Linked DNA regions of Homo sapiens: region 2 is linked to region 1. The links are contacts of gene promoters, found by promoter capture Hi-C in human tissues and cell types (Jung and others, 2019). All regions are on one chromosome and are shown on one strand. The core of a region is centred on a gene start or on the middle of the fragment in contact, and the rest is flanking DNA. Distances in the headings are between cores, read along the strand shown. Region 1 holds the start of SMDT1 (single-pass membrane protein with aspartate rich tail 1). Region 2 overlaps PACSIN2 (protein kinase C and casein kinase substrate in neurons 2).

Region 1 (5,400 bases), core at 1,494-3,993:
CTCAGCTGGGGCCTGTTTCTTTGGATTTTAGAAAGCCGTGCCCAGGTCCTGCCATGCCTCCTGTCTGATGCAATCTCGTTATTCTTTTCTCGAAGTCCGCCAGTGTCCAGTTTTTTTTGCATGATCCTCACGACATCCCTTTGAGAGAAAAGGAAGGAAAGACGAGCCCACTTCTCAGGAGACTTTAGGGACCTTAGGGACACAGCAAGCGAGTAGGAGTCCCAGGGCTGGGGTCCAGGTTGCCTCTGGAGCCGGTGCTGTTCCCCAGGAGGGCACGGAACCACCTCCCTCTCTGATCTGCTGCCATCTCTCTTGCCTCACAGTTCCCGTGGGAGCCATGAAGCTGAACGAGAGGAGTGTAGCCCACTATGCACTCAGCGACTCCCCAGCGGACCACATGGGCTTCCTGCGCACCTGGGGGGGCCCAGGGACCCCACCGACCCCCAGTGGCACTGGCCGAAGATGCTGGTTTGTCCTCAAGGGCAACCTGCTATTCTCCTTTGAGAGTCGCGAGGGCCGGGCCCCACTGAGCCTGGTGGTGCTGGAAGGCTGCACAGTGGAACTGGCCGAGGCTCCCGTGCCCGAGGAGTTTGCCTTTGCCATCTGCTTTGATGCCCCTGGAGTGCGCCCACACCTGCTGGCCGCAGAAGGGCCGGCGGCCCAGGAGGCCTGGGTGAAGGTGCTGTCCCGGGCAAGCTTTGGCTACATGCGCCTGGTGGTACGCGAGTTGGAGAGCCAGTTGCAGGACGCACGCCAGAGCCTGGCTTTGCAACGCCGCTCATCCTGGAAGTCTGTTGCCAGCCGCTGTAAGCCCCAGGCTCCTAACCACCGAGCTGCGGGCCTGGAGAATGGCCACTGCCTCTCCAAGGACAGCAGCCCTGTGGGCTTGGTTGAAGAAGCGGGCAGCAGGTCTGCAGGGTGGGGGTTGGCTGAGTGGGAGCTGCAGGGCCCTGCCAGCCTCCTCCTAGGCAAGGGGCAGAGCCCTGTGTCCCCTGAGACCTCCTGCTTCTCTACCCTGCATGACTGGTATGGCCAGGAGATCGTGGAGCTGCGGCAGTGTTGGCAGAAGAGGGCCCAGGGGAGCCACTCAAAATGTGAGGAACAGGATAGGCCCTAAGTCTGGGCCCTTTGAGTCAGGAAACCAGGGCCAGTTCTTTTTCAGGAGTTAAATGTTTACCCATTTCCAAGGTTGCGTTTTGGGAGGGGACATGGGTTCTCTCCTTCCTGCTATTTAGGCATTCTCCAGGTTCGAGATCCACCCGTGTGTCTGGAAGGGACTGCGGGACCATTCCTTCCATCCTCTTTATTTCCTGAGGTCCAGAGAAGGAAGGAGACTTAGCAGCCACAGAGCAAGACCCCAATCTCCTGACTGCACTGGCCTGACTGCCCCCTCCCAGGGGATGTTAATGAAATGAAGGAAGTGGGGAATGTCACCCGAGACTGTCACAGGCTTGCCATACCTTTGGCCTACACACCGGGCTCTAGAGCCATAATTTCCAACCTGGGGAGTCTCCTGTGCACTTAAATCCGAGGTAGGCTGCAGTATCGGCTTGAAGCTCTGACACTGTCAGAGAAAGTGGATTTATTGTGTCATAGGAGTTTCTGGGACCCAGCTCTTCCTGAGAGGGGTGGGAAGATTGGGGATGGGATCCTCACTCAGCAGTCTGGGTAGGGCCCTTTGAGGCAGAGGGTCTTCGGCCAGTGAAGAGAGATTTATTCTGCTCAGAGTGCTGGGGTCCCATCCTTTCTCCCTGGCTGCCCTGTTAACAGATGGTGCTGGACCTTGCCCCGGAAGGGGCTTGTAGCTTTTTTACGTCAACGAAATGCCCTCCTGTACTCTGTCTTCAGCAGCCAACTCCTGGAGCTGCCAAGTGAGGGGTTAAAGAAGAGGTGGGGAGGCAGTGTGGCTCCCTGGGAAAAGTCTGTTGCTTTGGTTCTCAGTCCTGGGTATTCTAGGAGCTTGGACACGGGATTGCGTTTCCTGTGCTAAAATTCTCTCTCCTGGCTGGGCTCCGGTAAACTGAAGCTGCTCGAGAAATCACCTGGGAACTCTCATAGCCGTTTGTCACCCAGGGTGTACTTGCCAGGACCTCTCCTTGCTACTCTTCCCAAAGTCGGGAGGCAAAGCGGCTGGGTCACCAGAGCCTGACCATACTGACGCTCCAGGGGGAAGACGCAGAGGCCGGGAAGAGACACCCCCTCCCAAACACATAAAACTTGCCCCTTCCTAGCCTCGGCTCCCCTCACTGGGGCCTTGGGCAGGACCGACCCGCATCCAACTAGGCCTAAGGGGTAGGCTCTGAGCCTCTTACCCCTAAGAGGCGGAGATGCGCCCAAGGCGGGCGCCCGGCCTGTTCCCCAGCCCTGCCTGGAAGCCCCGCAGCCACTGCATTTTGTTTAAACACAGATAGCACGGGCCTTTCTCTTATTGCTACAGTGTTTTGTACACGGTTAAAACACTAGTAAAGCTTTTTCGTTATTACTCCTTCCGCTCCCTGGGTTTATTTCCACAACCGGCCGCTGAGGCCTGTTCTGACGGCCGGGCGGACCCAAGACCGCGGCCACGCCCAGCAGGACGCGGACTGAGGGAGCCGGGGCTGCGCCGCCACTCTCGTGACGCCACCATGCCGGCCAGTGACAAACACCTCCCTCCCGCCGCCCCAGGAGCCGCCGGCACTGCGCGAGTGGGAGGGCTGGGCTTCTCGTGTACTCCTCAAACTCTCGCGAGGCTTCGGGCGGCTTTCTTCCCGAGGGCGGCACGAGGGCTGGGCGGTGGGGTGCGGGTGCCCGGGTGAGGGGCGGAGCTGGGGGCATGGCGTCCGGAGCGGCTCGCTGGCTAGTATTGGCACCCGTCAGGTCCGGGGCTCTCCGGAGCGGGCCTAGCTTGAGGAAAGATGGCGATGTCTCCGCCGCATGGAGCGGCTCAGGCCGGAGCCTGGTACCGTCGAGGTCAGTCATCGTTACCCGCAGCGGCGCCATTTTGCCCAAACCGGTGAAAGTGAGTGTCCTCCTGGAGACGGGGCGAAGGGGCTGAGGCCAATCATTGTGGGGAGTGCGTGAGGGCGGCGCTGATTGATAGGAGCCAAGGCCAATCATAACGATTACCGTAGACTGGAAGGCGGACCAAGAATACGCTAATGAGTTGCTAATTTTGACAGGTGTGTAGAAAATGGTAGGTAGACAGAAGATGGGGGGCAAACGCTGAGGAAGTTGGCCTTTTACATTAGCTTGTCCTGAGAGGTGCGGTGCTCTGCTCCTCTGGAGTCAGAAGACTAGGCCGTGTGCTTCTAGCTTAGAGCAGTCCTGTAATCTCTGCCCTGCCTGTCTCCTAGTTTATGGGATGAAATATGAATTTTGAAAGGACTCTGTAAATAAAGGGTACGTGGGACGGGCCTCATCTTTTTATTAGTTGTCACCTAATATTTAATTCATGTGATTTACAGTCCTGATAGATGTGCAGGGAATTATTACAATCACGGGTTTTCAAATGAAGAATCGGGCTAGAGCGGTGAAGCTCGTATCCAAGGCCAGCGCTGAGGACGCAGCATCCGGGTTTCTTCCTGGTACCGTCCCCACCAGGTCCTGTCTTTTTCCAACACTGAACGCTATCACATGCTTGAGTTTTTCTAGGGAAAACGGAAACAGTCCCTTATATCAAGCGAAAGTTTGCTTTACGACTGCAGGGCTGTGTGGTGTGGGAGTTAAAAAAACAAATTCTCTTAAAGCTAGTCTAGCCTATGCTAACTCACACAATTGACTGTAGGTCCATGTTGGGAAAGACCTGCCTTATCAAAACAGTTGAAAAAAAAATTTTTTTAATTCTAGGAATACGAGAGAAATGTTGCTGAGATTTTACTGACATTCTCCCAATCCATCTAAAGTCTTTGAGTGTAAATACATGCCCACTTTCAAATACATCTGTTTCTAAAATTTTTAAATCAAATTTCTCAGGCATCAGGGAACCTGTTACTTAGTGAACTGTGTAGAATATCCCTTCACTGTACATCTTTCTGTCATCGGTTTTCGTGTATTTCGTGTTCAGGCAGAGCTCACCGTAGTCTGGCCCTCCTAGTACTGGTGCACCCGATTGCCTGTAGGGATTTAAAGTAATTAGCAGGCTGTGTCCTAACTTTAGATGTCTAGGGTGCCTTAGACTTTTCTTTCCAGTGGACTTTTCGTCCATTTTGATGGCCATAACAGTCACCTTATCTCCTTTTTTTTTTTTTTGAGACGGAGTCTCACTCTGTCACCCAGGCTGGAGTACAGTGGCACAATCTTGGCTCACTGCAGCCTCCGCCTCCCGGGTTCAAGTGATTCTTCTGCCTCAGCCTTCTGAGTAGCTGGGACTACAGGCATGTACCACCACACCCGGCTAATTTTTTGTATTTTTAGTAGAGACGGGGTTTCACTATGTTAGCCAGGCTGATTTCGAACTTCTGACCTCGTGATCCGCCCGCCTCAGCCTCCCAAAGTGCTGGGATTACAGGTGTGAGCCACTGCGCCCGGCCTTTTGTCTTTTTTTTAGACAGAGCCTCACTCTGTCTCCCAGGCTGGAGTGGAATGGTGCAATCTTGGCTCACTGCAACTTCTGCCTCCTGGATTCAAGCAATTATCCTGCCTCAGCCTCCCGAGTAGCTGGGATTACAGGTGCGCACCACCATGCTGGGTCAATTTTTTGTATTTTTAGTAGAGACGGGATTTCACCATGTTGGCCAGGCTGGTCTCAAGCTCCTGACCTCAGGTGGTCCACCCACCTCAGCCTCCCAAAGTGCTGGGATTAAAGGTGTGAGCCACCCTGCCTGGCCTTCTCCTTTTCTAATTACTTTTCTTGCCCTGAATTTTTCCAAGGACTTTAAAATCAAGTTGCTTATGATGGGTCTGAGGGTATGTCTGTGAGAGGGCCAGGTCTTCTTTGGTCCTGCCAGAGTGGGCTCTGGAGCTCACAGCTGCCACTCTGACCCTCTGCAGATGTCCTTCGGCCTTCTCCGTGTGTTCTCCATTGTGATCCCCTTTCTCTATGTCGGGACACTCATTAGCAAGAACTTTGCTGCTCTACTTGAGGAACATGACATTTTTGTTCCAGAGGATGATGATGATGATGACTAACAGGTAAGACTTGCTTTACCCTAGATGGAGCAGGAAGCAGGGTGGAGCATCTGTCTGTGATGCAGTCTGGCCTGGTAGCAGCATTTGGACACTGGGGGCAGAAGCATTAATGAATTGGCCCACTTGGTGGCTAATGTTTTCGTTTGTTTGTTTTTTGAGACGGAGTTTCGCTCTTGTTGCCCAGGCTGGAGTGCAATGGCATGATCTCGACTCACTGCAACCTCTGCCTTCCAGGTTCAAGCGATTCTCCTGCCTCAGCCTACCGGGTAGCTGGGATTACAGACATGCGCCACT
Region 2 (5,400 bases), core at 1,965-4,464, 920 kb after region 1:
ACCCTGTCTCTACTAAAAACACAAAATTAGCCCAGCGTGGTGGTACATGCCTGTAATCCCAGCTACTTGGGAGGCTGAAGAAGAGAATCGCTTGAACCCGGGACGCGGAGGTTGCCGTGAGACAAGATCATGCCATTGCACTCCAGCCTGGGCAACAAGAATGAAACTCCATCTCAAAAAAAAAAATGCTGTCTACAGACTATGCCTGGTGGGCACAGGACTGATGGAGCAGTCCCCTGGCAGTCACTCCCTAACTTGCTGGGGAGACAGGGCCACTGTGGGGGACCACCAGTGCTTTGAAGAGAGAACCCTGAGACAGACCCAGATCTGAAGATATATTAAGCTTCTCTGAGCCTATTTCCTCAACTGTAAAGTGGGAATCAAAGAGTCCCAAGGCAAGATGGTTGGCAGGCTCAGAGGCACCGATGGCTGTGCTACAATGGAGTTCTCTAAGGGCAATGCCATCACAAGTGCAGGGCACACATTCATGCATCCCATCTGCACAACAATCCTATCATGATCCCCATTTCAAAGGTGAGGTAGGTATCACAACCAATCTCAGAGCTGGGATTCAAGCCCAGGCAATCTGGTTGCAGAGCTCCTTACTAACAACAGCTCACTGCAGGCACTTGTAGCCCCAATGGACGGGGCCGGCCCAAGACCAAAACATGCCAGAGGCTTCTCCCTGAACCTCTGCTCCAGACAGAGGCCCTCCTATGGGGAAAAGCAACCCGGGTTCCAGGTCAGGACCCCAAAAGCCAGCCATCCTGGACAGCAGGATGCACAGGGAGTGGGTAGCAGGGCTTTGCAGCCTTTGTGGGGACTGGTAATTTGCCAACTCTACCCCAAGGAGAGAACTCCCCTCTCCCACCTGGTAACCCCACGAGTTCCCAATGGACTGAGTTTGTCTCCACCTCCACCAATCACACTGCTAACATGAGGCTTTTGGAGGGTTTGGAGGATTGGAGGAGGTTTCTCTCTCTACTCACCTCTTTACTTACTAGTAAGAGCTCATGTTATGTTAAACTATTTCTAAATTTCGTGAACCTGCAAGTTCCTAGTAGAGGCAGCAGAGAGAAAAGCATGGGCCCAAAATAGCAATTCTGGAAATGAGCGTACACCCAAAAAACTTTAAGGAAGGTGACTTGTCTGAGCTATAAGGGGAGGTGATGAGTCAGCCCCAACCCCCACATCAGCAACTTCAGACTCACATTTGCAAGACTAAGAAGAAAAGAAATAAATCCAAAAGGAAATACAAGAAGCATTAAAGAAAATAACAAAGGATAAAACTGGAATTGATTATATCCTTTCACTCAGTCTTCATAAAAGGAGACATACTGTGTGGCACTGCCGTGATCCAATCACATTGACTTTCTTCCCATGGCTTACAGGTGGTCAGGAGTACCCCTCTGGAGTACTGGAAGGCCCTGCTTTTGCGTGACTCTCAGGCAAGGCCCAGCTCTGGGCCCCAACAAGCACCCCAGGCCTAAAAAGCAGAAGGCACTTGAAGGGAGAGCACAAGCAGCCCTTGGGCCCCGTCCGACCTCAAATAAAACTTAGGCCAAGGGCTGCTATGGAATCACGTCTTGTGTTACCAAAAATCCAGTCTCGAAATAAATCAGCCCTATCAGTGCATGCCATGCCATGCCATACCACCCACCCAAGTCTAGGGCAGCTGAGCAGGGATTTCTCAGGGAAATAAAATGGGAAGCTCCAAACGACAAAGGGGAGCTAAGAGCATATGGTTCTGGGCTTGGGAGTAACCGCCAGCTTAGCTGAAAAGCTCTAAGGATGACCAGAGGCTTCCATGAAGCCCCTGCCAGAACCTTCACCACACACACAACCAACAGCTCAGCCAGTTGCCAAGGCAACAGCAACCTAGACATGTTTAGGCATCTGTAGAAACCAGAGCAAAGTACAATTTCCACACTTGTGATAAAAATGCAGCCCCCAAAGCATCAAGCAAAGCATCACTCTAAAATTTTGTTTTACTGACAGAAGAAGCAGGACTGGGAGGGGAAGCAGGAAGCTGGGCAGCGCCTGGCAGAGCCAGTGCAGTCAGACGAGCCCTGAAGTGTGGGCACAAAAACCTGCCTGTGCTTGGGAAGCAAGACACTTGTATGCCTGTGCTGTTTGTGGCTGTTTCCTCTTATGTCTACCTTCCTGGGTAGTCAAGTCTCTTCATTTTGTTGTGAACATCAGCTTTTCTTAGCTGGGATAAGAGGAACCAAGAAAAGTAAGCTTTTGCCCACAGTAAGGCAAGAGAACTAAAAGGGAAACAGCCCCTGTGGGGAGAGGGTAGACATGGTGGAGGCATCGCAGGAATTCTAGGGAGGGGACCCAGGGGTAAGCACTAAGGTCAGCTGGCCTGACCACTGCTCCCCACCTGGAGCCCCTCTCTGTCCCTGCTAAGCACCTTGTCCTTTGCAGACCCTGGCAAATGAGCCACCAGGAAAACAGGACACCACTCAGTCTGAGAGTGAATACCTAAGGGACAGTGGAGGGTAGGAAAGTCAGTCCATGGGGAGGGGACATGGTGACAAGTTCCACAGCAGACCAGAACAGAAAAACAAACAAGCAAACAAGGCAAGCAAGCACCAGTGCTATAAACTTCCCAGGTTCCCTTTGAGATGCTTGTCTCTGGAGATGAACAGAGCCAGGAACCCCCATGAGAGCAGCATCTAGAAGCTAGAGATGAACTCTAAAGGACCACACGACCCCCAGGCTGCCTGGCAGAAAGAACCCTGCAGAGTCTTTCCAATATGCATCCCTTAAGTGAGGAAAAGAAAGCTAGAGAAGGTCTGTGAGATACCTACCGCGATGGCTGAGCTGATGCAGGAATGTGGCCATAAGCACTCACAACCTTGGGAACGTGGAACATTAGCTCCAAGGATTAATCATCAAGTAGTAAGGATTTTCTAAAACAGCGTTCCTTGCTCATCAAAGTATGGCAACCAATTCAAGTAAAATGATATCCAGAAACTTAGGAAGGAAATGTGACTCATTTAAGAAACCCTCACAGAACTTTCTTATCTCACAGATACTTGGAAGTTCTAAAGGCCAAGGCAGGCACTTTAAAGAGAAAGAATCCCCATTTTTTCACCCAAAAAATCAGAAAAATACACTTACAAGCAGCAAGACAGGCTTTCAAAACACTCTTAAGGTGTTCATACCCTTTAATACAAGATTTCTATTCTCGGGAATTTATCCCCAGGAACTAATTACACAGATGAAAAAGGATGAAATTATAAACTGCAAATTCATCTACATTAGCAAAAAAGTGGAAATAACCTAAAATGTCCAGCACTAGGGAATGTTTTAATCTCATTACGTCAACAGGATAATATAACCATTAATAATCTTTTTGAAGATGAAGGTAAAACATGGAAAATACTTGAGAAAATATTTAAGTGAATCTGAATAATACAATTATAACAATGTCAGTTATTGAAAAGGAAACAGCGAGGTCAGTTCAAGCTCCAGATCTCTCCCATCTACAAACTGGATGGCCTTGAACTAGGCACCTGATCTCACTACCTACAGCTTCCTCACATTCAAACTAACAACCTCGAAGTGTTGCCTTGAGGCAGGACAGAGACAACGTACCTCTCTTGCCTCTTCTGAAGCTTGGTACAAAGTTGGCAGGGAATAGGTTACTTGATCAAGATACACAAAAACCACTTTGTGCGTGGAAGGTAAACTACAAAGAGTTTTTTACTCAGAACATTGTTTTCTATGTTGAACCTTCAATTTTTAAAAGATTTAAAGAAAGCAAAAAAGAAGTCATTTGACACAAAAGTGATGATTATCCCAAGCATAAAAACAAATATCGGCTGGGCGCGGTGGCTCACGCCTGTAATCCCAGCACTTCGGGAGGCCAAGGCAGGCGGATCACGTCAGGAGATAGAGACCATCCTGGCTAACACGGTGAAACCCCGTCTCTACTAAAAATACAAAAAATTAGCTGGGCGTGGTGGCGGGCACCTGTAGTCCCAGCTACTTGGGAGGCTGAGGCAGGAGAATGGTGTGAACCCAGGAGGCGGAGCTTGCAGTGAGCCGAGATCGCGCCACTGCACTCCAGCCTGGGCGACAGAGCAAGACTCTGTCTCAAAATAAAACAAAACAAAACAAATATCTGCTCTAATATACCTGAGCAAATGCTCTTATGTGATATCACAACGTTGACAAAATGTGAAGACCTTTCGCAATTTTACAAAGTGCAGTCCTCTACAGAAACACAATTTCTTCTCCCTTGTCTACCTGCTCTTTAACAGCATAAGATGCCTTTTAAAATGCATCTGCCGAAGATGAGGCACTCCTAAGCCAGGGCCTCTGGAATCTTCCTCCTGTCCCACGTGGGATGCATCATGGGGTGGGTGTACCAGCGAGTCACCCACGGCCTTGACCGCACCCCAGCAGCTCTCCCTTTTGTGCCCTTATCTCCCTGCTGTGTAAATGGTTGTAAACTTTCAGATTATTGAAACCAAGTTAGTTACAGACATAGATGCCGTCTTAAGCAAAGGACACACATAATCTCCCTCATGTCTATGTTTCTCAGAGGTGGGGGAGAAAGATTAATTATCTTTTAAAGATGTTCACATCTGAGAGTGATTCACAACTTACTTATTCCAGCCAGCCAGAGGAGGTGAAATGAGTGTGGGCTTCGGTAGGCAGAGCACCAGCTCTGATGGTGACCCTCTGAAGGCCACTGAATCTCTCTGAGCTTAGGTTTACTGATGGATCAAGTGGAGAGAACACTATCTGGTTGCAAGAATTAAATGGGCAGGAATGTAAAGCTTCTTGAATGGTCCCTCAGAAACTTCAGAACATGGGGGCCTGTGCAGACAGCCCCTCACCACTGACTCTGCACCCCCCACGCACATCCTCCTTGGTGGCACATGCCCAGTCTCCTTATCTGATGACACATTTGCAGGAGCAAAGGTCGCAATTGCTTAATTAAAGCATCACCACGTGCGAGCTAAGTGGCGAGCAGGCAGCCAGCTCCAGCCAATCAGACAGCTACAGAACCCACTAATAGCGGGCTTGGACGTCTGTACAGGGAGCACTGCCTGCTCTGTGGTTCCTCTGAAGACCACAATTCATGATCTTGGCACGCTCGGTTGGCGACAACATAATTTAATATAATGAAAGACAAATGCAGTTTAAAACATGAAAATGCTCACAAACTACGGTTTGGGTATCACTTTACATTAAGAAGATTTCATTTCATTCAATAGGAAACTTCAGAATACACAGTTGATCCTATCTAAAGACCACCCTGCAGGTCCAGGCAGAGGCCCCGTCACAGGCCTCCCTGGGCGCTCTGGGCTTGGGCTCAGAGGCCCATATGGGGTCCTGGCAGGTGGCCTCAGGCAAAACCACTCACCCCTTTAGCTCTGA

Evidence for each region. Contacts are between HindIII fragments. The study calls those that stand out against the background at their distance.
Region 2: a fragment that was not itself captured here is called in contact with the fragment with the promoter of SMDT1 in region 1 in 1 of the 25 tissues and cell types used here (lymphoblastoid cells).

The regions. Positions count from the first base shown.
Region 1 is chr22:42,076,957-42,082,356 of GRCh38, forward strand. SMDT1 (single-pass membrane protein with aspartate rich tail 1) reads left to right here and starts at 2,744. Exons shown (of 3, transcript NM_033318.5): 1 at 2,744-2,998; 2 at 4,969-5,109. The coding sequence starts at 2,813. The coding sequence ends at 5,106. It overlaps PHETA2 (PH domain containing endocytic trafficking adaptor 2), which reads left to right. Exons shown (of 3, transcript NM_001002034.3): 3 at 324-2,482. The coding sequence starts at 338. The coding sequence ends at 1,117. RefSeq lists enhancers at 686-1,248, 2,489-3,261 and a silencer at 2,169-2,463. The HindIII fragment of the contact is 9,212 bases long and covers 1,583-5,400 here.
Region 2 is chr22:42,999,494-43,004,893 of GRCh38, forward strand. The region is part of intron 1 of PACSIN2 (protein kinase C and casein kinase substrate in neurons 2); the gene reads right to left. Among named protein-coding and RNA genes, the nearest start is that of PACSIN2, 13 kb to the right of the region's middle. RefSeq lists an enhancer at 2,074-2,253 and a silencer at 4,948-5,047. The HindIII fragment of the contact is 3,845 bases long and covers 1,293-5,137 here.